5 separate regions of the Homo sapiens genome follow, and regions 2, 3, 4 and 5 are each linked to region 1. The links are contacts of gene promoters, found by promoter capture Hi-C in human tissues and cell types (Jung and others, 2019). All regions are on one chromosome and are shown on one strand. The core of a region is centred on a gene start or on the middle of the fragment in contact, and the rest is flanking DNA. Distances in the headings are between cores, read along the strand shown. Region 1 holds the start of AURKB (aurora kinase B). Region 2 holds the start of SLC2A4 (solute carrier family 2 member 4). Region 3 overlaps ZBTB4 (zinc finger and BTB domain containing 4). Region 4 holds the start of SOX15 (SRY-box transcription factor 15). Region 5 holds the start of SHBG (sex hormone binding globulin).

Region 1 (4,819 bases), core at 1,369-3,868:
TTCAAAGAGAAACACTGATGTGACAGTTTTGCTTCCCAGCCTCTGCTCATAGTCCCATATTAAAATGGGTTATTAATAAACAACCTAGGGCTGGGCGCAGTGGCTCCCGCAGTCAGGAGTTCAAGACCAGCCTGGCCAACATGGTGAAACGCCATCTCTACTAAAAATATAAAAAATTAGCTGGGTGCGGCTGGGCGTGGTGGCTCATGCTTGTAATCCCAGCACTTTGGAAGGCCGAGGCAGGCGGATCACAAGGTCAGGAGTTTGAGACCAGCCTGGCCAACACAGTGAAACCCCATCTCTACTAAAAATACAAAAATTAGCTGGCCGTGGTGGCACGCTCCTGTAATCCCAGCTACTCAGGAGGCTGAGGCAGGAGAATCGCTTGAACCTGGGAGGCACAGGTTGCAGTGAGCCGAGATCGTACCATTGCACTCCAGCCTGGGCAACAGAGCTAGACTCCATCTCAAAAAAAAAAAAAAAAATTAGCCAGGTGTGGTGGCAGGCGCCTGTAATCCCAGCTACTCGGGAGGCTGAGGCAGGAGAATCGCTTGAACCTGGGCGGCAGAGGTTGCAGTGAGCTGAGATCGCACCATTGCACTCCAGCCTGGGCAACACAGTGAGGCTCCGTCTCAAAAAATAAATAAATAAATAAATAAATAAATAAATAAATAAAAAATAAATAACCTAAGTAGGCCTAAGATAAGGGGCAAAGGACTCACACCAACACCTAACATTTCACTTCTTTGGCCCTGGCCCACACTTTTCAGGCATGAAGCTGTTCAACCTGTATAAGTCCTGTCCATAACAACACAGTCATTCATCCAGCCCCTCACTTACACCACAGTAGAGAGCTGCGTCAATGAACACCCACAATTCAAGGGGTTTAGCACAGAGGTATTCTCAAAGTCTCCTAAAAAGCTTAGTTTATTAAGGCTTAGATAAGATGCTTGAGGCCTTGAATGTTATAGCAATAACCAGGATTTACACTTTTGCAAGAACAGGCTTTAAGGACACTAAGAGCTACCCTGATGGCCCTGGACCACTTCTCACTTTCAACTTCTTCATTTTTTTTTTTTTTTGAGATGGAGTCTCGCTCTATTACCCAGGCTGGAGTGCAATGGTGCCATCTCGGCTCACTGCAACCTCCACCTCCCAGGTTCAGGCAATTCTCCTGCCTCGGCCTCCTGAGTAGGTGGGATTACAGGCACATGCCTGGCTAATTTTTGTATTTTTAGTAGAGACGGGGTTTTACCATGTTGGCCAGGCTGGTCTCGAACTCCTGACCTCAGGTGATCCACCTGCCTCAGCCTCCCAGTGCTGGGATTACAGGCGTGAGCCACCTACCTGGCCTCACTTTCAACTCTCAAAATAATAGGTACATTTTCTTTTAGGAGTGACTAAGGTAAAAGTGACAATGGTTTCTCATTCAGACTCCATTCCTGACAGCCTCACTCAGTGCTCCATGAGGGAGGGAGCTGATGTACAAGGGAACAGACAGACTCTCCAGGAAGCAAGAGCTCCAAAAACAGGGAGCAAAGCCTGTGCAGGGCCCCTTCCTTCTTCTGCAGCCAAGAGAAGAAAGCCCCTAGGCCCCAAATAGTGATATTGGTACCAATCTACAAATAAGCAAGTTGAATAAAATACAGTCCAGAAATAGACCCACATATATGTGGGAATTTATATATATAATAAAGGTGGCATTTCAAATCAGAGAGGAGGCCCTTCAATGAAATCTGTCTGGACCATTGGGAAATAAGTCAATTTAGATCCATTTAGATTCTTACCTCAATTTAGTCATTAATTCCAAATTGTAATTTAGACTTGCCCTGGGCCTTTTAAACTGTAACTTTATATCCTTTTAGAGTCTATTTCTATTTGCTGTCTAGTTTTTTTTTTTTCAGGATATGGATTGGGAATCATGGCCTGAAGGCCAGGCCCTGCCTGCTCAGTCCCAGATATCATTTGTATGTGACGAGCCCTGCAGAGGTCCTCACCAGCTGGGAGTCACTGGCTGGTCAGATTCACGTTGGCAGCACCTGACAGGATGTGGCTACAAATGACCAGAGCGGGTTCTGTCGTCAAACTTGGGACCCGTACTTTGGAGCATAACGGGGAAGAAAGTGCTTAAAGGATTGCTCATTGCAGGATCTCAAGTTTCCCAGCAGGAACTCGCCATGCGGGGTCATGGGGGCGCAGGGACGGAGGGAAGGGCCTTACCGTCTGTCGGCCGTAGGGCCAGGGGTAGGAGTTCTCCTTCTGGGCCATCCTTAGAGAGAAAGGGGGAGGAGAGCTGGGCGGAGAAGGGAAACAGCCGTGAGAAGCAGAGAAAAAGAGAGAGAGAGGGAGGGGTTGGACCGATCGAGCCGGAAGCGCTAGCCCGAGCTGGTAAAAGGGAGCAGGTCAGCACACTAGCCCCAATCTGGGCGCTGGTCTCACCGCCCCCGCCCTGCTATCGTCCCTACCTCCTTCCAGCCCTGCGGCGTGCGCGCAGGCCAGCCCAACGGACCCTCTGATCTACCTGATCATCTGCCCACTCCCGGCGCAAGGCCTGCGACAGGAGGCCAGCTCACCTGGGGTCCAAGGCACTGCTACTCTCCCGGCCGCCCGCAAACAACTGAATCTGCCACGCCGCGCCCTGGCCAAGGACTTTTCAAATCTCCCGCCCCGGCCCCATTGGGCAAGCTCGTCGCCCATGCCTAGTTCCCATTGGCTCGATGTCCTGTGACGTAAGTCATGGGAACCCAATGGAAGAGGCGGAATGAGAAGGGCTCACGCTTGGCTTCCAGTTTAGGAAAGTTTCCCCAAATTCCCCCAGTGAATTATCTTGCTTTTTCTTTTCTTTTTTTTTTTCCTTTTTTGAGACAGGTCTCTCTCTGTCGCTCAGGCTGGAGTATAATGGTGCTATCTGGGCTTGCTGCAACCTCTGCCTCCCGGGTTCAAGCGATTCTCGTGCCTCAGCCACCCGAGTAGCTGGGATTACAAGCGCCCGCCACCACGCCTGGCTAATTTTTGTATTTTTATTAGAGACGGGTTTTCGCTGTGTTGGCCAATCTGGTCTCGAACTCCTGTCCTCAGGTGATCCACCCGCCTCGGCTTCCCAAAATGCTGGGATTACAGGCGTGAGCCACCGTGCCCGGCCTTCTTCTTTTTATAAAAAAAATTAAATCTTTAATGTAACTGGAGTTTATCCTTATGCATGTATGAGCTGGGGTCTAACTTCTCTGCCCGATGGAGCGCCAGTTATGTCAACACCATTTGTTAAACAAACTGCCCCAACAGAATTTAAATGCTGCCCTTGATATATAATGTTAGCATATTTACTTGTGTCTATTTCTAGACTTTGTATTCCGTTGTTTGCTCATTTGCCTGTGTGTTTATTCTTGTGTCATTACTATGTCGTTCTTAAAAGTTCTGACATTCCTGGGAGGAGTTTTTCCACCAATAGACCTTTCGTTGCAAGATCTCTGTTAGCTGCCGTGTTGTTTGGGCCCACTTTCATTTTTCCTCCTTCCTGCCACACTTCCTTCTTTTCTGCTCTTCCTAACCCTCAGATTTCATTACTGGGTTAAATAAATACATTTTTGGGCCTTCTATGAAATAACCAGTGGATATTTATTAAGTATGTACTGTCCAGCACTCTTCTCCTTTCTTCTAACACTCTATTTTTCCTTTAGGGGACCACCTGTCTCTCCAGTCTATGCAGTCGGTTTCTGTAGTAGTTTCTGTTGCTGACAACCCCAAATCCCTAGGTTGATGAAGACCTATTTAAATCTCACTTTTTTTTTTTTTTTTGAGATGAAGATTCGCTGTGTTGCCCAGGCTGGAGTGCAATGGCACAATCTCAGCTCACCACAACCTCCTCCTCCAGGGTGCAACTGATTCTCCTGTCTCAGCCTCCCGAGTACCTAGGATTATAGGTGCATGTGACCACGCCCGGCTAATTTTTGTATTTTTAGTAGAGACGGGGTTTCATCACATTGCTCAGGCTGGCCTCAGGTGATCCGCCCGCCTTGGTCTCCCAAAGTGCTTGGATTACAGGCGTGAGCCACTGCGCCCAGCTTTATTCCCACTTCTGAAAGCACTTAGAGTTTTGAGGATTTGAGAAGGAAACTGACTTCATTGCAGGTCCAGAAATGAGCCCCAATTAACTTATACTAATCAATACCTTTTATTCCAGATTATGGTTATTGGATCAGGCATAAGCCTGTGATTTAAGTGGGCCAGCTAGTGGGAATCAGTTTCTTGCTCAGAATGCTGGGCAGCTCAAGGAAACACTTAACGTTTACTGGTTTATCATAAAGTGTATTACAAATGATATAGATGAAAAGATGTATAGGGCAAGGTATGGAGGAAGAGATTTCTGGAAGTGAGCAGGGAAGCATGCAGCCCTCATTGCTGCTTCTAGTGCTACTGAAGGAAGCAGCTTGACATTGAAGCCTAACATTGCAGAAGGCAGAAGAGAGGCCTGGAAAGAACTTCAGGACTTGATGACATTGTTGAGCCTCTACATGCCTACGTTAGCACTTTTCTTACATGAACAATAGAGAAGATTATTATTCAGCTAATATCCTTTCTGAATGCATTCTAAATGCTATTTGCTGTTTAAGCATATTGTGTAGAAAAAACAAACCATGGCTAGGCTTGGCGGCTCACGCCTGTAATCCCAGCACTTTGGGAGGCTAAGGCGGCTGTATCACTTGAGCCCAGGAGTTTAAGATCAGCCTGGGCAACCTGTGAAACCCCGTCTCTACAAATAAAAAAAAAAAAAATTAGCCAGTATGGTAGTGTGTGCCTCTAGTCCAAGCTACTTGATAGG
Region 2 (4,819 bases), core at 1-2,500, 930 kb before region 1:
AGGAGGAATCGAGCCTGACTTCTACCATAGGGGTGACTGGGCGGGTAATTCATTGAAATAAGGAAGTTAGGAGGAGGAGCAGGTTTGGACATGCTGATCACTAGAGCTGCCACATCCGGGCGGTAACGAACACCTGGATCTGCAGCTCCAGAGAAGGGCCTGGGTCAGATGTCACTGAAGCCCTATGGTGGCGGAAAGGCGAGAAATAGTGGGTTGAGATTCCAAGTGCAATCCACTGCGGCTCCTCGCTCGCCCTCCAGGTGGCAGCACAACCCTGCGCTTCCGAAGCCCGTTTTCTGAGCCAGACACTCTCCACGCTCTGGGTATTTCGGCTTCTCTCTCCCCACACGCCGACCCTAGGTCGCGCACTTTCTGCCTGGCAGAATTTGGCCGAGGATCCAAACCCGGAGCAGCCTCCAGAGAGCGTGTCGTTCACGCGGCCAGCATATGCTCAGAGACCTCAGAGGCTCAGAGACCTCAGGGCTGGTGGTGTGGTCGGTTGTGACCACTTGTCCCTCGGACCGGCTCCAGGAACCAACCTGGGGAATGTGTGTAGGGGAAGGGCGGGATAGACAGTGCCCGGAGCAGGGAGGCGCTGAAAGACAGGACCAAGCAGCCCGGCCACCAGACCCGTTGTGGGAACGGAATTTCCTGGCCCCCAGGGCCACACTCGCGTGGGAAGCATGTCGCGGACTCTTTAAGGCGTCATCTCCCTGTCTCTCCGCCCCCGCCTGGGACAGGCCGGGACGCCCGGGACCTGACATTTGGAGGCTCCCAACGTGGGAGCTAAAAATAGCAGCCCCGGGTTACTTTGGGGCATTGCTCCTCTCCCAACCCGCGCGCCGGCTCGCGAGCCGTCTCAGGCCGCTGGAGTTTCCCCGGGGCAAGTACACCTGGCCCGTCCTCTCCTCTCAGACCCCACTGTCCAGACCCGCAGAGTTTAAGATGCTTCTGCAGCCCGGGATCCTAGCTGGTGGGCGGAGTCCTAACACGTGGGTGGGCGGGGCCTTTTGTTCCAGGGACTCTTTTCTCAAAACTTCCCAGTCGGAGGCTGGCGGGAACCCGAGAGGCGTGTCTCGCCAGCCACGCGGAGGGGCGTGGCCTCATTGGCCCGCCCCACCAACTCCAGCCAAACTCTAAACCCCAGGCGGAGGGGGCGTGGCCTTCTGGGGTGTGCGGGCTCCTGGCCAATGGGTGCTGTGAAGGGCGTGGCCCGCGGGGGCAGGAGCGAGGTGGCGGGGGCTTCTCGCGTCTTTTCCCCCAGCCCCGCTCCACCAGATCCGCGGGAGCCCCACTGCTCTCCGGGTCCTTGGCTTGTGGCTGTGGGTCCCATCGGGCCCGCCCTCGCACGTCACTCCGGGACCCCCGCGGCCTCCGCAGGTTCTGCGCTCCAGGCCGGAGTCAGAGACTCCAGGATCGGTTCTTTCATCTTCGCCGCCCCTGCGCGTCCAGCTCTTCTAAGACGAGATGCCGTCGGGCTTCCAACAGATAGGCTCCGAAGTAGGATTCATCATGAGGGGGCGGGGCGGGGGGGCACGGGTCCCGCTTTTCTTGGGCTGGGGTCGCGGTTGGGGTCAGCTGGGGGTGGTTCCTGCGCAGGCGCAGGGGGTGAAGGTAGGGGGCTGGCTATTTATACCCGGCCTGGACAACCCGTGACTGTGAGATTCCAATCCTACCAAAAGGCAGAGTGGGTCTGGAGGGCCTTTCGGGGCACAGGCAGCAAGTGGATTCTGCGAGCCAGGGTTCACCCCCTTGCCTAGTAGGCGGCGCGGCGCTCCGGAATCGGGGACACCCTGCCCTCGATCCGACTCGGGAAAGCAGATCCAGGCGGGTCTTGCCCTCCGGGAGCTGTCCGTCCGTCTTCGCTCACGGGCAGTGTTTCGAGGACCGGAGGCTCTCCGTGGGCCCCCACCCCCACTCCTGGCCGCCCTCCAGGACGCTGAACTTTCCCTTGGCCCCATGGTTGGTGGAGGGGCAGAGGGGACTGTCAGCCCCCCCTCCTCCAGCTCAGGTTTCCGCTTGGAGACAGTCTGTGCCGCCAGCGAGCGGCCACCACTGCCACCGCCCCTCACACTACCTTCCTGCCCTCCTCCCCTGGGCATGGCTCTCCCAGGCAGAACCCCTGGACGGCCCTCCCTGCACGGAGGTTAGAGGGGGAGGGCAGGCCACGACGTAGATAGAGAAGGCCACCCCTAGATGACCGGGATGTCCTTTCTGGAACAGCACTTCTTGGTCCTGTTGGGGGCCTCCTGGAGCTGGCTGACAGAACCCCCAGAGGGGAGGGAAGAGGACAGTGGCTGATGATAATAATGCACGTGTTAATTTATGAAACCAGCACTGTCAAGGATATTGTTAACATGTGATGTTGATTTTCACAACACTCTCACAGATAGGTAGGCAAGGCAGGCAACATCACCCCCATCTCACAGAGGACACTCAGGTTCGGGGCAGGGAAGTGACTTGGCCAAGGTCACACAAATCTGAGCTCTTAAGGCCAAGCCTGTCTCAAGGTCACAGAAGAATTTTGAGACAAGTTCTCAAACATTTCTCTGCCTTATGGACCCAAACATCCAGTTTCTCCTTTATGCCCAGGTTGCAGTTCAGCTCCTGTTTACATTGAGATCTTTGTGCAATTCCTAATATGGCCCAGTTTCCCTCACCCAACATGTTGGGTGGAGCCCAGTATCTTCAGGCTCCAGCTGGGCCCGGGCCCCTAGCGGAAGGAAAAAAATCATGGTTCCATGTGACATGCTGTGTCTTTGTGTCTGCCTGTTCAGGATGGGGAACCCCCTCAGCAGCGAGTGACTGGGACCCTGGTCCTTGCTGTGTTCTCTGCGGTGCTTGGCTCCCTGCAGTTTGGGTACAACATTGGGGTCATCAATGCCCCTCAGAAGGTGAGGGCCTGCAGCTGGCAGGGTGGGGGTACCCAAACGAGGAGGACAGGTGTCTCGGGGGTGGTGGAAAGGGGACGGTCTGCAGGAAATCTGTCCTCTGCTGTCCCCCAGGTGATTGAACAGAGCTACAATGAGACGTGGCTGGGGAGGCAGGGGCCTGAGGGACCCAGCTCCATCCCTCCAGGCACCCTCACCACCCTCTGGGCCCTCTCCGTGGCCATCTTTTCCGTGGGCGGCATGATTTCCTCCTTCCTCATTGGTATCATCTCTCAGTGGCTTGGAAGGTTCGCAGCTGGAGGGCAGGGGTGGGGGAAACAGGAAGGGAGCCACTGCTGGGTGCCCTCACCCTCACAGCCTCACTCTGTCTGCCTGCCAGGAAAAGGGCCATGCTGGTCAACAATGTCCTGGCGGTGCTGGGGGGCAGCCTCATGGGCCTGGCCAATGCTGCTGCCTCCTATGAAATGCTCATCCTTGGACGATTCCTCATTGGCGCCTACTCAGGTACTCACGGGCACCACAGCCCTGCCTAGCGCCCTGTTCTCTTTCACCATGCCTGGGCTTTCAGATGGGAATGGACACCTGCCCTCAGCCCTCTCTTCTTCCCTCGCCCAGGGCTGACATCAGGGCTGGTGCCCATGTACGTGGGGGAGATTGCTCCCACTCACCTGCGGGGCGCCCTGGGGACGCTCAACCAACTGGCCATTGTTATCGGCATTCTGATCGCCCAGGTGACCGGAGCAAGCCTCATGGGTGCCTGGGCAGTGGTTAGAGTGGGGCTCTGGAGAATATGGTGGGCTTCCAAGGTAAGGCAGAAGGGCTGAGTGACCTGCCTTCTTTCCCAACCTTCTCCCACAGGTGCTGGGCTTGGAGTCCCTCCTGGGCACTGCCAGCCTGTGGCCACTGCTCCTGGGCCTCACAGTGCTACCTGCCCTCCTGCAGCTGGTCCTGCTGCCCTTCTGTCCCGAGAGCCCCCGCTACCTCTACATCATCCAGAATCTCGAGGGGCCTGCCAGAAAGAGTAAGCTCTCCCGCTGCAGCCTGGCCCAGGCCCATGCCTCCGCCTCATCTTGCTAGCACCTGGCTTCCTCTCAGGTCCCCTCAGGCCTGACCTTCCCTTCTCCAGGTCTGAAGCGCCTGACAGGCTGGGCCGATGTTTCTGGAGTGCTGGCTGAGCTGAAGGATGAGAAGCGGAAGCTGGAGCGTGAGCGGCCACTGTCCCTGCTCCAGCTCCTGGGCAGCCGTACCCACCGGCAGCCCCTGATCATTGCGGTCGTGCTGCAGCTGAGCCAGCAGCTCTCTGGCATCAATGCTGTATGTGTGGAGCAGCCTCCAGGCAGGGCACAGCCCCGGGAGGGTAGACGAGAGTGGGGAGCAAACCCCCTCCACCAACACCCAGGGTAGGGCCAGCCTGTTGTGGCTGGAGTAGAGGAAGGGGCATTCCTGCCATCACTTCTTCTTCTCCCCCACCTCTAGGTTTTCTATTATTCGACCAGCATCTTCGAGACAGCAGGGGTAGGCCAGCCTGCCTATGCCACCATAGGAGCTGGTGTGGTCAACACAGTCTTCACCTTGGTCTCGGTAACTGCTCACCTCTGGAATGGCCCGAGCCACTGGCTTCACCTCCCTGGGTGTCCCGGAGGTCCTGCTCTTGGTTGCCCTCACCCACGCGGCCCCTCCTACTTCCCGTGCCCAAAAGGCTGGGGTCAAGCTCCGACTCTCCCCGCAGGTGTTGTTGGTGGAGCGGGCGGGGCGCCGGACGCTCCATCTCCTGGGCCTGGCGGGCATGTGTGGCTGTGCCATCCTGATGACTGTGGCTCTGCTCCTGCTGGTAAGGCCTGGAGGCTAGGAGGGGCTAGCAGCCCACCCCATGGGAATGGTCCTGTGAGTCTCTGTGACCAGCCAGGGTCCCTTCTTAACACACATGC
Region 3 (4,819 bases), core at 933-3,432, 740 kb before region 1:
GTTAGCCAGGATGGTCTCCATCTCCTGACCTTGTGATCTGCCCACTTCGGCATCCCAAAGTGCAGGGATTACAGGCATGAGCCACCGCGCCTGGCCAGGCCCGGATAATTTTTGTATTTTTAGTAGAGATGGGGTTTCACCATGTCGGCCTGGCTGGTCTTAAACTCCTGACCTCAGGTGATCTGCCCGCCTCAGCCTCCCAAAGTGCTGGGATTACAGAGCCTGGTCAATTATTTATCTTTTTTTGAGACAGGATCTTGCTCTGTTGCCCAGGCTGCAGTACAATGGTGAGATTGAGGCTCACTGCAGCCTTAACCTCCTGGGCTCAAATGATCCTCTCACCTGTCAGCCTTCTGAGTAGCTGGGACTACAGGTACCTGCCACCATGCCCAGATAATTTTTGTATTTTTTGTAGAGATGAGGTTTCACCATGTTCCCCAGGGCTGGTATTGAAATCCTGGTCTCAAGCAATCCGCCCAGCTCAGCATCCCAAAGTGCTGGGATCATAGTGGAAAGCCACTGCGCCCAGCTCCTATTTCTTATTTATCTCTGGAATGTAAGCTCCAAGGGGTAAAAGGTAGGAATGTTTTTGGTTTTGTTTTGTTTTTGAGATGGATGGCATCTTGCTCTGTTGCCCAGGCTGGAGTGCAGTGGCATGATCTCTCTCGGCTCACTGCAACCTCTGCCTCCTGGGTTCAAGCAATTTTCCTGCCTCAGCCTCCCAAAAACCTGGAACTACAGGCATATGCCACCACACCCGGCTAATTTTTATATTTTTAGTAGAGACAGGGTTTCACCATGTTGACCAGGCTGGTCTCGAACTCCTGACCTCAGGTGATCCACCCGCCTTGGCCTCCCTCCCAAAGCGCTGGAATTACAGGCATGAGCCACCATGGCCAGACTTTTTTTTTTTTTGACATGAGGTCTTGCTTTGTCACCCAGGCTGTAGTGCAGTGGTGTTACCACAGCTCCCTGCAGCCTTGACCTCCCCTAGGCTCAGGTGATTCTCTCATTACAGCCTCCCAAGTAGCTGGGACTACGGGCATATGCCACCACGCCCAGCGAATTTTTTGTATTTTTAGTAGAGATAGGGCTTCACCATGTTGCCCAGGTTGGTCTCGAACTCCTGGGATCAAGCAATTCACCGCCTTGGACACCCAAAGTGTTGGAATTACAGGTGTGAGCCACAGCGCCCGGCCAAGGGTAGGGAATTTTGTCTGCTTTGTTCATTGCCGTATCTGAAGTCGTTAGAATAGGGCCTAGCACGTAATAGGTGGTAAAAACAAAACAAAAAAACTGGTAAATGAATGAACCTGTCCTCAAAGTCCATCCTCCAGGATGGAAGCCATCGTCCACGCTGGACTGAGTTGGCCTGGAGATAGGGATGACAATTATAACTTGACCACTTCTGGGCCAGGCACAGTGGCGCACACCTGTAATCCCAGCACTTTGGGAGGCTGAGGCGGGCAGATCACTTGAGGTCAGGAGTTCCAGACCAGCCTGGCCAACATGATGAAACCCCATCTGTACTAAAAATACAAAAATTAGCTGGGTGTGGTGGTGCACGCTTGTAACCCCAGCTACTCAGGTGGCTGAGGCAGGAGAATTGCTTGAACCGGGGAGGTGGCGGTTGCAGCGAGCAGAGATTGCGCCACTGCATTCCAGCCTGGGCGACAGAGTGAGACTCTGCCTCAAAAAAAAAAAAAAAAAAAAAAAAGGCCAGGTATGGCCAACTCACGCCTGTAATCCCAGCACTTTGGGAGGCCAAGGCAGGTGGATCACCTGAGGTCAGGGATTGACCACCTGCCTAGCCAACATGGTGAGACCAGCCTGGCCAACATGGTGAAACTTGGTCTCTACTGAAAATAAAAAATTAGCTGGGCGTAGTGGCGGGCGCCTGTAACCCCAGCTACCCGGGAGGCTGAGGCAGGAGAATCACCTGAACCCGGAAGGCGGAGGTTGCAGTGAGCCAAGATCATGCCATTGCATTCCAGCCTGGGTAACAAGAGAGAAATTCCGTCTCAAAAAAAAATTAAAAGAAACCATAAATAAGTTGACCACTCTGGAGTCCTCACAATTTGCCTCATACTCTTCTTGGGGCCTCACACACATTACCTCATTTAATGATATTCTCAGTACAGCCACCCACAATAGGTTTTATATTATCCTGTTGCCCAGGCTGGAGCGCAGTGGCGTGATCTCGGCTCACTGCAACCTCCGTCTCCTGGGTTCAAGCAATTCTCCTGCCTCAGCCTCCAGAGTAGCTGGGATTCCACGCCCAGCTAGTTTTTTTATTTTTAGTAGAGACAGGGTTTCTCCATGTTGGCCAGGCTGGTCTTGAACTCCTGACCTCAGGTGATCCACCTGCCTTGGCTTCCCAAAGTTCTGGGATTACAGGCATGGGCCACTGCGCCCGGCCATATTATTCTAATTTTACAGAAGAGGAAACCGAGGCTCAGAGAGGGATATACCTTACTCGAGGTCGCACAGCTTGTAAGCAGCAGTCAAGATTCGAATCCAGGCCCAGCTGACCCCAGATGCTCAATCTTTCCCTCTGCCATACTGCTAGACCTGGCCCTGAAGAGGCCTATGGCCCGCCAGCTGGTTACATAAACCACCGCACAAGGTCTCACGTGCTAAGTGCTAAATGTGTCATGTCTGACTCCACCCTTTCCCTCACTTCCACATCCAGCAGTCATCAAGTGTGGCTGAAATCGCCGCCGAGCTTGGGAATGGCTCTGGAAATCTTCCCTTCGATAGCTCAGGTCCTTGTTAACACTCACGTGGTCCAAGGTTATGGCCTCCCAGCTATCCCCTGGCCTCCAGGCTTACCTTCCTCCATCCAGCCCTCCTCCCCCTGAGGGTCAACGTCCCTAACCACAGTTCAGGACTATCACTCCTGGGCTCAAAACCTCCACTGGTCCCCACTGACTCTAGAAGAAAGTTCAAATTCTTCTACCAGGCAGTCAAGGGCTCTGGTCTAGCTCCAATCTTCCTTTTTAATCTTGCCTTGTGTTATCCTCTTCAAACACACAGTACTCAGCGTGAGCCAGGCGTGATGGCAGATACCCATAGTCCCAGCTACTCAGGAGGCTGCAGCTAGAGGATTGCTTGAGCCCAGGAGTTTGAGTCCAGCCTGGGCAATATATTGAGACCCAGTTTCTAAACAAATGAACAAAACCCCAGACACCCAGTGTGCTCTCCAGCTTCTACATGACCCACACCTTCATGCCTTTGCCTGTGCTGGCTTGTTCTGCCAGAAATGCTCTTTCCCCAAGCTTGTCAAAATCCCTCCAAAACGTTAAGATCTGACTCCAAGGCCACCTCCTTCTTGGCCCTCCCTGATCCACAGGATGAGAACGATCATTCCTTCCTCTGACTCATCAACCTTTTGTGCTCCTATGGCCAGCATCCACCTTACACAGCAGCAGAGACTCAGGTTCTCATGCCCTCAGCTGGGGATCCCTGAGCATCCGGGTCTTCTGAAATGGACTGCTGCAAATGCTAAGTTCTGCAGCAACTGGGGAGAAGAGTGTTGGAGGGAGTTGCACAGAAAGGACCATCCACTGAATGTTCCAGAAGGCAGCAGAGTACAGTAGTTAAGAGCACAAGATCTTCAACCTGATTGCCCGGGTTCAAATACAGCTTCACCTCTTACTAGCTAAGTGACTTGGGGCAGATTACTTAACTTCTCTGGACCTCAGCTGCCTCACTTGAAAAAGGGAGGTAGAGTGCCTACTTCAGGGTGTTGTTCTGAGGACAGAGTGGCCACATATAAGTGCCCTGAGGACAGGCTGGTGCACGGTCAGTGCTAAGCAAGTGTGTGCTGCCATTATTATCAGCGAAGCCCCAAGAAGGGAATTCCCAGTCCTGGGGGAGGGCTGACAGGGGCTGGCATAGGCACAGCCCCCAGACTATAGCCACTTTCCGGGTCCGTTTCCCATGTGCTTTTGGAAGATACGCAGGGCAGACAATCAGCCCCATTCTGCAGATGAGGAACTGAGCTTCCTTCAGATCAAGTGCCAGTGAGGGAATGGTAAAGACGCCAGAGCTCCTCAGCCCTGGACCATGGCTCCTTTCTCTTCACCAGACCGTCACTGTGCACCTGTTGAGCAGGCTCCCACGGCAGCCACCCCTTCCCAGCCCCCCATGCCGGAGGGCCTGTCCGCAGCACCCTCCCTTCCCCCACGTACACACATCCTTCCAGTGGGGCCGGGCACAGTAGACAGTGGTGTGCAGGCTTGGAATGCACTTGCACACACACCCCTAGAAGGGCCCAGTCCCCAAAGGTGAGGAAAACCTGTTCTGAGGAATCTGCCTAGTGAGCGAATTCTGTTCTGAGGCCCTTCCACCGTCGCAGGAGTGGGGCCCAGTGTGCGTCAGAGATACCCACAAGGGGGGCAGAGAGAGGGAGAGGGTGAAGCAGGAGGAGGCTGAAAACTTCACGTTTCTTTTTTCCATTTTAGTGACAAGAGTCACACCCAGCCTTTACATAAACATGGCCAAGGAGCCTCTCTGTCTAAGCTTACTTCCCTTGTGGCCGCCCAGCCTCTCCTCCGGGTGACCCTGACACGCTGGGCAGGCTCATGAGGGGCAAACATACAGACCCTGCAAAGATTAGCTGGGCCATCTGACAACACCCATGCCTCCCGCCGGCCTCCATGCGCTACCCTGCATTTATCTCCCGCCTTCCTCATACCAAATCCCCTCCGCAGCCCCACCGCCACTTAAGCACACAGACGGCAGGCACGCACACACAGCCTGCTTGCGGCTGGCCTCTTGGGTCTGAGGCCCACACTGCCCTTGTCACGCCACCTCC
Region 4 (4,445 bases), core at 1,729-4,228, 620 kb before region 1:
GAAGAGCTCAGGTGACAGAGCCAAAGGTCTCAACTCCTCCCCTAGCTTCTCCAGGCAGCCACCAACTACCACAACGGGCACACAGGCCAGCTCTCAGCCATCACAGTCTTCCTGCTGTTTGGGGGCTCCCTGGCCCGAATCTTCACTTCCATTCAGGTGAGTGCAACATCTTCCTTCTAGAAGGCACTAAAACCTCGTCTTACTTCTCCCAGCTAAGGGCCAAAGCTGCCCCGTGAGGAACCTTTGTCCATAAGGGAACCTTTCTTGAGCTATGCTGAAGGGTAACCCTGGCTCTGTCTCTTGCAACCAGGAAACCGGAGATCCCCTGATGGCTGGGACCTTTGTGGTCTCCTCTCTCTGCAACGGCCTCATCGCCGCCCAGCTGCTCTTCTACTGGAATGCAAAGCCTCCCCACAAGCAGAAAAAGGCGCAGTAGAGCCAGCTACTGGAGTCATTCCGTTTCCACTCATTCACCCAACCTCAGGGTTCTCCCCATCTGAGCCAGCCTGCTGGTGTGACTTACTCATCCTCCATTCCTCTGCACTTGCAGACTTTCTGAGCCAGGGTTTTCTTTTAGTGGAAACAAATGGTTGATGGATCCAGATCCTTAGAAAAGGAGAGGATGGGGGTAGAGTCTCCCAAGCCAAAATTTTGACATTTGAGTGCTTTCGTAAGCCCTGTACATGTACTATTAATTCAGTCATTCAGCCAAGCCTCCTCCTCTAGCAGCAATTTCCAGCTGTGTAACACTATCCTGGGCAAATGTTTTACCCTGTCCTCCAGCCTCCCTGCTTCCCTTCTGGCCCTGGAAGACTGAGTCTGGACGGCAGAGTGGAGGGACTGGGAGGCTGTGGCTGCCTCCCTCCCTCAGCCCGGCTGGGACTGTCTCCCGGACCCCAGTGCTGGGGTGGGGGAAGGGGGACGGAGAATGACTCAGGCAGGGCCCCAGGGTGGGGTGAGGAGGTTCCTGCTCTGGCAGGTCTAGGCGGAAGGGAGTGGAGATGGGGCTGGTTCCTGCTGCAGTGAGGGGAACAGATGGGACAATAAAGACTGGAGACTCAGTTGAATAATACAAAACTGTTTAATACTACCAAAAATATAATTGTATGTTGTGCGGCTCTCCCTGGCTATCATGGGAGGACTGCAGGCTGCCTCTGAACTGTAGTCCAACAGGAGAAAGGGTTGACAGCCTGGGGTAGGGGATGCTGCTGGATTAAAAAAGGAGGATGAGGCCCGTCCCGTGAGGTCTGCGTCCATGAGGGTTAGAGGTGGGTTAGGGGCATGGGGGCACCAGCAAGGGGAGGGTTGTATGGAGTGGGAGAGCCAGGGGGCAGGTAGTGGGTATAGGTGGGCAGCAGTTCCCCCTGGAGCCTAGGGTCACTCTGAGGGAGGGAGCACGGTGAGGGGGCTTCCAGTTTGCAGTGGGAAGAGCTGCAGAGAGAAACAAGAGGTTAGAGGGCACTTCCCTGGGTTGGAGGTGAGTCTGGCCAGTTCTGGGCAGACAGGGTAGAGCGTGCCACCCACCCAGCCCTGGCTACCCAGCCCGCTGGGCGCAGCAGGCATGGAAGCCGACCCCGGGATGGAGAGCCCGCGGCCCTGTTGGGGCACGCTCGGGAGCGGGCTTGCGTGCTGCACGGCTGTTTTCCTCTTGGGGAGTCAGGCCAGGAAAGGGCAGAATGAGCTCGGCCTCTCCTTGCCCTGGGGGCTGGGAGAGGAAGCTGGGTCACACACAGGCCAGAAGCAGGGGGGAAACGGGGCATCTAACTAGGACACAGTCGCATCCAGGGGTCAGTCACCTGACCCTACAGGGCCCACCACCTTCAGACTGAGATGGAAACGCCCTCTGGGAGAACCCTGATCCGCCCCACCCTACACAGGCCCCGGAGGTACTGGGCCTGCGCCCGCCACACCTTGGCCGCGAGTGGCCTCTGCTTGGGTGGGCTCCCGTCCTCCGGCATCCGCCCCCACCAAGGCTCCAGAAGAGGGGCGCATGGGCCTCCGTCTTCGGCCCGCTTCCCAGGCACTCACCCATAGCTGCCAGGCAGGTAGGCTGTCGAGTAGCTGGGGGGTCTGTACCCAAAGCCTCTGCTCGGTTGGGTGGTCGCGTACCCCGGCCCCCAGAGCGGGCCGCCGCTGGCCAGGTTGCCTCTTCCCTGTCCGCAGCGGGAAGGTCCGGCGCCCGAGCTCTTGGCCTTGCGCCGAGGCCGGTACTTGTAGTCGGGGTAGTCGCGCAGGTGTCGGGCGCGGAGCCGCTTGGCCTCCTCCACGAAGGGCCGCTTCTCGTCCTCGTCCAGCAGCTTCCACTGCGCGCCCAGGCGCTTGGAGATCTCGGAGTTGTGCATCTTGGGGTTCTGCTGCGCCATCTGGCGGCGCTGAGCGGAGCTCCACACCATGAACGCGTTCATCGGCCGCTTCACCTTCTCCAGGGGCAGCGTCCCGGGGGCCGCGGGGCTCCCAGCGCCCTCCCGCTCCTGGGGTCCCGAAGATGAGGAGGCAGCAGCCGTGGCAGCCGGAGGCTCCAGGCTCCAGGCCTGGTCCTGTGAGGAGCCTGGTAGCGCCATGGGTTGGGAGAAGCCTTAAGAGGGCGTCCTGAATGCCCTCCCCTCAACGTGAAGCGTCGATCCTGAAAATGGAAAGGTCTTCCCAGTCTGGAGTCGTTGCCGAGGAACTTGGGTCCTTAAAAAGTGTATTTTATCCCCAAGCCCAGAGCTTAAACCGGAGCCTTTGCTTCCAACCTGTTCGGCACACTTTGGGGAGAGTCGAATGCAAAATCCGCTGTCTGGTGCCCCGGCACTGAAGAGGTGTTCTGAGGCCTACTGACTGGGGGACCCCCGGTCCCTCTCCCCGACCCGCAGCTGCGATCAGACCGACCTTCCGTGGAGGGGGTAAACCATAAACCCCTTTGTGGTCTCCGGAGTTCCGACAGCTGCCAGGCGCGGATAGGCCAGACCTCTCCCACCTGGGCTCAGCGTTTGTGGCAGGCGGGCCAGACCTGGGAACAGCTTTTAAAGACTGACTCCGCCCCTGTCCCTCCCATAAGACTGCACCTCCTTAAGGGCGCCAACATCCTCAGCCCGTAGGTAAACCCAGGTGTCCTGTTTGTCCCAGCCCCCAACACCCTCAGGGTGCCACGCCCCCCGCCCCCCCCACCCAAGACCTGATGTCAGGCCTTCCAGCCCGTTGCTGATTGCCTCCCCTCCCTGAAGCACAGGCAATTTAAAGCCAATTCTTTCCACAATGGGATCAAACACAGGGGGATGAAGTGCCCTCAGGGCCCGAGTTGTGCTGAGAGGAGCTTGGGAGCATCCCGGACCACCACCCCAACCCCTTTCCTGGTGCCTGTTGCTCCTCAAATCCCAGAACTGCCCCTGGGGCAAGAAAGGCCGAGGAGGGAGACCATTTTTGTTTCCTGAGTCATTCCAGCAGGTGCTTGGGCCGTGATTCAACCCCTTTCCCAAGTGAGAAAACTTAAGCCCTCCCAACTCCAGTCCCTAAACCTATATTTCTCCACTGCTATTGAATTATGGCAAGTTTTAGCTTCAGTCGTCCAAGTCATGAGGGGGGAGCCAGGAAACCCAGGACAACTCCCCAAGTTAAGAGGTCTGTGATGCGCATGCCGGAGAAAAAGCCTGGAGCCAGAACAGAACACCACCAAGAAGGCCGGACCCCGGGCTCCAGAGGCTGCTGTGAGGGAACCCTGCTCCCCACTCTGCCCAACGGCCCAGCCCAAGCCCCAGGCCTCAGGTAATCGGATTAAGCAGCCTGCCTTGGCTCTCAGCTTCTACAGGAACAGCTCCAGCTCTGAGCAGCCCTGCCTAGCCTGTGCTGTGACTCAGGGTATAGGAGTGGCCCAACTCCCTCTACCAGCAAACTTGGGGGAGGGGAGAAGCAACAAGGCACAAGCCCCCCTCCTCTGAACCAGGAGGGAGAACCTGGGCCTGGGGAGTTTAGGAATGTCAGGAATTCCCAGAAGTAAGACCATCTTTGGGACAAGAGACAATGAAGAGAAGTCAGATGTGGAGGAACAGAAAACAAGAGCCAGGGGCCAGGGCAGGTCAGTCCTAGAGAAACAAATGGACCAAACTGGGGACAAAGAAGGCACAGGAGCCAGACAGCCATTTGGATTTTTTTATTCTCTTTTTAAATACTGTACAGTGAAAAATAAATACGCCTTCTCATCCACCAGACAAGGTTGGTCCCCTCCCCAGGGGGACCTTGTCACCCCCCTTCATACACACCCCTGGTTCTACTCCAAAACCTTCCCCGTGCCTCCCACCCACTTATCTCTTACTATCCCCGTCTTCCACAGTGATGAGGCCCCAGAAATGGGGGGTACAGGATGGGAGGAGGGATAGCAGGGGAGGCCCCCTGAACGGTCAAATCTGGGTGGGTCGAGGAGCACCCCCCACCAACAGGTGGAGAATGGGGGTGTTCAGAGAGAGATT
Region 5 (4,819 bases), core at 305-2,804, 580 kb before region 1:
GATTACAGGCATGGGCAACCATACCTGGCTAATTTTTGTATTTTTAGTAGAGACGGGGTTTCACTATGTTGGCCAGGCTGGTCTGGAACTCCTGACCTCAAGTGATCTGCCCGCCTCAGCCTTCTAAAGTGCTGGGATTACAGATGTGACCCACCAAGCCCGGTCTGTCATTTGCATTTTAAAATGGGTCATGGGGTGGGCACAGTGGCTCACACCTGTAATCCCAGCATTTTGGGAGGCAGAGGCAGGCGGATCACCTGAGATCAGGAATTTGAGACCAGCCTGACCAACATGGTGAAACCCCGTCTCTACTAAAAATACAAAAATTAGACAGGTGTGGTGGCGCATGCCTTTACTCCCAGCTACTCGGGAGGCTGAGACAGGAGAATCGCTTGAACCTGGGAGGTGGAGGTTACAGTGAGCCGAGATCGTGCCATTGCACTCCAGCCTGGGCAACAAAAGCGAAACTCCATCTCAAAATAAATAAATAAAATAAAATGCGTCAGGGAGGGTCGGGCCTTGTGGCTAATGCCTGTAATCCAGGTACTTTGGGAGGCTGAGGTGGGCGGATCATTTCAGGTCAGAGGTTCGAGATCAGCCTGGGCAACGTGGTGAAATCCCCGTCTCTACTAAAAACACAAAAAAATTTGCTGGGCGTGGTGGTGCGTGCACCTGTAGTCCCAACTACTAAGGAGGCTGAGACAGGAGGATCGCTTGAACTCGAGAGGCAGAGGCAGCAGTGAGCCGAGATCACGCCACTGCACTCCAGCCTGGGTGATAGAGCAAGACTCTGTCTAAAATAAAATAAAATAAAATAAAATAAAATAAAATAAAATGGGTCAGGGAGTGGGTGATTTCTACTGCTAGACTGTTTAGGCCCTGTAATAAATGGATAAGGGAAGATAACTGAGAGGCGGGGGGCAGGTCCCTTCTTAATATTCACTGAATCATACACACAGACAATACCTTCTTGGGAGACAGGCCTCAGAGGCCTGGGAAAAGACTGGGGGAGGAGTTCAGACCAGATGCCAGGCACTGTGCCTGCATTTTCTCAATGAACCCTCTTTCACAGTCACCCCGTAAAGTATTATTTTCCTCATTTTACAGACAAGGACACTGAAGCACAGAGGTGAAGTGACTTGCCCAAGGTCACTCAGCTAGAAATTTAGGATTCCATTATCTCATTTCTAGTCCTGATACAGGATGCTACTTGGGACGCAGGGGAGGACTGTTTCTAGACCTCAGGCCTGTGAATGCAGGCTCCCCGAGTGGACAGAAATCTTGGAGGACCTAGATCAGGCCCTAGAGGAGGAGAGGGGAGATGGAATATCCTCTCCCAGTTCAGAAACTTTCTCGGCAGTGGAGGATGATAGTGGAGGGGACTCTGTCCTTCACCCCATTGATCCCCAGAGGGGTGATAGCTGAGTCTTGTGACTGGGCCCCTGGGCAGGGGTCAAGGGTCAGTGCCCCTGTTTCCTTTACCCCCTCCTCCCCGGGCAACCTTTAACCCTCCACCGCCCACACGCAAGGCTGCCTGCCTCTACACATTCTCCCAAGAGTTGTCTGAGCCGCCGAGTGGACAGTGGCTGATTATGGAGAGCAGAGGCCCACTGGCTACCTCGCGCCTGCTGCTGTTGCTGCTGTTGCTACTACTGCGTCACACCCGCCAGGGATGGGCCCTGAGACCTGTTCTCCCCACCCAGGTGCAGGAGCGGGACAGGGCACTCAGCTCATGCAGTCTTCCCTTCTCTCCTCTGGCCCTGTAGCAGGGCCTCTCCCTCTGTCTGTCTCTGACATGTCCCTACTCAGCTTTGTTTGTTTTCTCTTTCTGATAGAGTGCCCACGACCCTCCGGCTGTCCACCTCAGCAATGGCCCAGGACAAGAGCCTATCGCTGTCATGACCTTTGACCTCACCAAGATCACAAAGTATGGGGTTGGCCTAGCCCTTGACCCAGTCCCCTGGTTCTGCCCTCTCTCCATCAGCTCTTCTCTTTTCCCTGTCTTCCTTTCCTTATCTGTGAACACCATCTCCCCCAAACCCACACTGGTTCTCAAAGGACACATGACATACACAATCTTTCCTTCTGTGTCCTTCCAGAACCTCCTCCTCCTTTGAGGTTCGAACCTGGGACCCAGAGGGAGTGATTTTTTATGGGGATACCAACCCTAAGGATGACTGGTTTATGCTGGGACTTCGAGACGGCAGGCCTGAGATCCAACTGCACAATCACTGGGCCCAGCTTACGGTGGGTGCTGGACCACGGCTGGATGATGGGAGATGGCACCAGGTAAGCTAGCTCTGGTCCTCAGGGGAGGGATGTCTGGAGCTGGTCTGAGGAAAGGGAACAAAACCAAGTTATTGGGCATCCCTCTACCACTGTCATCTCGTTTAATCCACACGAACCCCCACAAAGTAGCTATTCTTGGCCCCATCTTTTCTGATGGGAATTCTAAGGCTCAGTCAGTATATAAGTGACAAGAGCTGAGTGACCCAAGGCCAAGGATGCTAGCTGCTTCTTTAAGGCATGTTCTTTCCACTATAGTACTAGGCTGCCTCACAGGAAGGTGGCAGAAACAGATCCCAGGGGCCTCTGATTTTGCTTCCCACCTTCCTGCAGGTGGAAGTCAAGATGGAGGGGGACTCTGTGCTGCTGGAGGTGGATGGGGAGGAGGTGCTGCGCCTGAGACAGGTCTCTGGGCCCCTGACCAGCAAACGCCATCCCATCATGAGGATTGCGCTTGGGGGGCTGCTCTTCCCCGCTTCCAACCTTCGGTTGCCGGTAACTACACCCCAGGGGTGGAACCCTAGCCAAGACTTGGTAAAGCACTGCTGGGTGGCTGGCCGTGGGAATCTAAGTCCACACTTTTAGGGAGAAGGGAAGGGTTGAGAGCTGCAAGGGGGAGGCCAAATGCTCAGAGGGGAGTCAACTGAGGGCAGGGAGGTCGGGACTGCGGCTCCGATGCCCTGATTTCTACATCCCCGTATCTTATCTCTGTCACACTCCAGCTGGTTCCTGCCCTGGATGGCTGCCTGCGCCGGGATTCCTGGCTGGACAAACAGGCCGAGATCTCAGCATCTGCCCCCACTAGCCTCAGAAGCTGTGATGTAGAATCAAATCCCGGGATATTTCTCCCTCCAGGGACTCAGGCAGAATTCAATCTCCGAGGTAGATTTCCTCGGAGTCTATTTTTCCCACCCTGGCCAGCTCAGCCTGCCTCTGTCCCCCTCTACCACTGGCCCCTTTCCTCCTTGAGACCCCAGCTTTGAGGCCTCAGGATAATCATTTCTCCCCACAGACATTCCCCAGCCTCATGCAGAGCCCTGGGCCTTCTCTTTGGACCTGGGACTCAAGCAGGCAGCAGGCTCAGGCCACCTCCTTGCTCTTGGGACACCAGAGAACCCATCTTGGCTCAGTCTCCACCTCCAAGATCAAGTAAAGGGGGACAGTGGGGCATTGCCTGTATTCAGTGGAGCCTGGAGCAATGAGGGAAGAGGGGAGTCCAACATGTCAATATTAGGAAGGTTTCCAGCCCAGGGAACATAACAAGACTGGCTCCACAGAATTGTTTTTCATTAATAATTAGCCAGGCATGGTGGTGCTTGCCTGTAATCCCAGGTGCTGGAGGCCAAGACCAGAGGATCACTTGAGGCCAGGAGTTTGACACCAGCCTGGGCAACATAGCAGAGACCTCTGTCTAAAAAAAAAAAAAAATTAGCCAGGCATGGTAGCACATGTCTGCTGCCCTAGCTATTTAGGAGCCTGAGGCAGGAGGTTCACTTGAGCCCAGGAGTTTGAAGCTGCAGTGAGCTATGATGTGCCACTGCACTCTGACCTGGGCCACAGTGAGACCCTGTCTCAAAAAAATAAAAATAAAAATAAGGCTTATGGATGGCACTCAGGTGGGTGGTAGGGGCGAGGGACATATCTTGAAGCTCCCCACAGCAAGCAAACAGTTTTGACTTAGACTGCATATTTACTTGGGGCAGGTGTGGTTTCAAAAAGGGTCAAGCCAAAAAAAATTGGGGCAGGATTTAAGTGGTGAGAATGGCCAGTAGGTGGAGGCATAGCGAAGAGGCAGAATTAAGGCAGCTAGGGGTGAGGCCACAGGCAGTAGGCCCGGCTCATTCTTCCCTCTCTCTCTACCGTCCCTTTCCCACACACTCTGCAGAAGGTGGTGTTGTCTTCTGGGTCGGGGCCAGGGCTGGATCTGCCCCTGGTCTTGGGACTCCCTCTTCAGCTGAAGCTGAGTATGTCCAGGGTGGTCTTGAGCCAAGGGTCGAAGATGAAGGCCCTTGCCCTGCCTCCCTTAGGCCTGGCTCCCCTCCTTAACCTCTGGGCCAAGCCTCAAGGGCGTCTCTTCCTGGGGGCTTTACCAGGTAAGAGAGAATGATGTTCAAGTTCATGAGCACAACATTGGAAACAGCTCAAGGGAGGCGGCACATTTTGAGGGGAAGGAAACCTCTGGGAGGGAAGAAGAATAGGCCACAAGAAGAAGATATGGGGGCAGTGGAAGGTAGTGCTTTTGCAAACTCAGGTTGGAGGAGTGGAAAAGTGGGGAGAAGATTCTGGATCCGAGCCACCTTAATGCTCTAATGCCACCTTTGCACTACCTCCCTCTAGGAGAAGACTCTTCCACCTCTTTTTGCCTGAATGGCCTTTGGGCACAAGGTCAGAGGCTGGATGTGGACCAGGCCCTGAACAGAAGCCATGAGATCTGGACTCACAGCTGCCCCCAGAGCCCAGGCAATGGCACTGACGCTTCCCATTAAAGCTCCACCTAAGAACCCCCTTTGAAAGTTACTGATTATTCATTTAT

What was found. The method cuts DNA at HindIII sites, captures the fragments that hold promoters and counts their contacts. A contact is called where the count stands out against the background at its distance.
Region 2: the fragment with the promoter of SLC2A4 here is called in contact with the fragment with the promoter of AURKB in region 1 in 1 of the 25 tissues and cell types used here (small bowel).
Region 3: a contact is called between a fragment that was not itself captured here and the fragment with the promoter of AURKB in region 1, in 1 of the 25 tissues and cell types used here (psoas muscle).
Region 4: the fragment with the promoter of SOX15 here is called in contact with the fragment with the promoter of AURKB in region 1 in 1 of the 25 tissues and cell types used here (heart left ventricle).
Region 5: a contact is called between the fragment with the promoter of SHBG here and the fragment with the promoter of AURKB in region 1, in 1 of the 25 tissues and cell types used here (heart left ventricle).

What each region holds. Positions count from the first base shown.
Region 1 is chr17:8,207,957-8,212,775 of GRCh38, forward strand. AURKB (aurora kinase B) reads right to left here and starts at 2,619. Exons shown (of 9, transcript NM_004217.4): 1 at 2,574-2,619; 2 at 2,221-2,293. The coding sequence starts at 2,268. RefSeq lists enhancers at 1,851-2,510, 2,072-2,121. The HindIII fragment of the contact is 18,109 bases long and covers 1-4,819 here.
Region 2 is chr17:7,280,468-7,285,286 of GRCh38, forward strand. SLC2A4 (solute carrier family 2 member 4) reads left to right here and starts at 1,251. Exons shown (of 11, transcript NM_001042.3): 1 at 1,251-1,500; 2 at 2,778-2,894; 3 at 3,006-3,178; 4 at 3,271-3,395; 5 at 3,507-3,622; 6 at 3,750-3,912; 7 at 4,018-4,205; 8 at 4,368-4,472; 9 at 4,621-4,722. The coding sequence starts at 1,468. RefSeq lists a silencer at 1,215-1,364 and an enhancer at 1,497-2,484. The HindIII fragment of the contact is 23,134 bases long and covers 1-4,819 here.
Region 3 is chr17:7,473,319-7,478,137 of GRCh38, forward strand. All of the region lies in intron 1 of ZBTB4 (zinc finger and BTB domain containing 4), which reads right to left. Among named protein-coding and RNA genes, the nearest start is that of ZBTB4, 3.9 kb to the right of the region's middle. The HindIII fragment of the contact is 3,437 bases long and covers 465-3,901 here.
Region 4 is chr17:7,587,116-7,591,560 of GRCh38, forward strand. It overlaps SOX15 (SRY-box transcription factor 15), which reads right to left and starts at 2,979. Exons shown (of 2, transcript NM_006942.2): 1 at 2,029-2,979; 2 at 1,063-1,431. The coding sequence starts at 2,561. The coding sequence ends at 1,263. It overlaps FXR2 (FMR1 autosomal homolog 2), which reads right to left. Exons shown (of 17, transcript NM_004860.4): 17 at 4,115-4,445. It overlaps MPDU1 (mannose-P-dolichol utilization defect 1), which reads left to right. Exons shown (of 7, transcript NM_004870.4): 6 at 46-156; 7 at 311-1,097. The coding sequence ends at 436. RefSeq lists an enhancer at 2,123-2,697. The HindIII fragment of the contact is 6,906 bases long and covers 664-4,445 here.
Region 5 is chr17:7,628,581-7,633,399 of GRCh38, forward strand. It overlaps SHBG (sex hormone binding globulin), which reads left to right and starts at 1,555. Exons shown (of 8, transcript NM_001040.5): 1 at 1,555-1,703; 2 at 1,836-1,927; 3 at 2,100-2,289; 4 at 2,620-2,781; 5 at 3,009-3,168; 6 at 3,299-3,435; 7 at 4,172-4,379; 8 at 4,624-4,792. The coding sequence starts at 1,593. The coding sequence ends at 4,772. RefSeq lists an enhancer at 4,046-4,135. The HindIII fragment of the contact is 13,012 bases long and covers 1-4,819 here.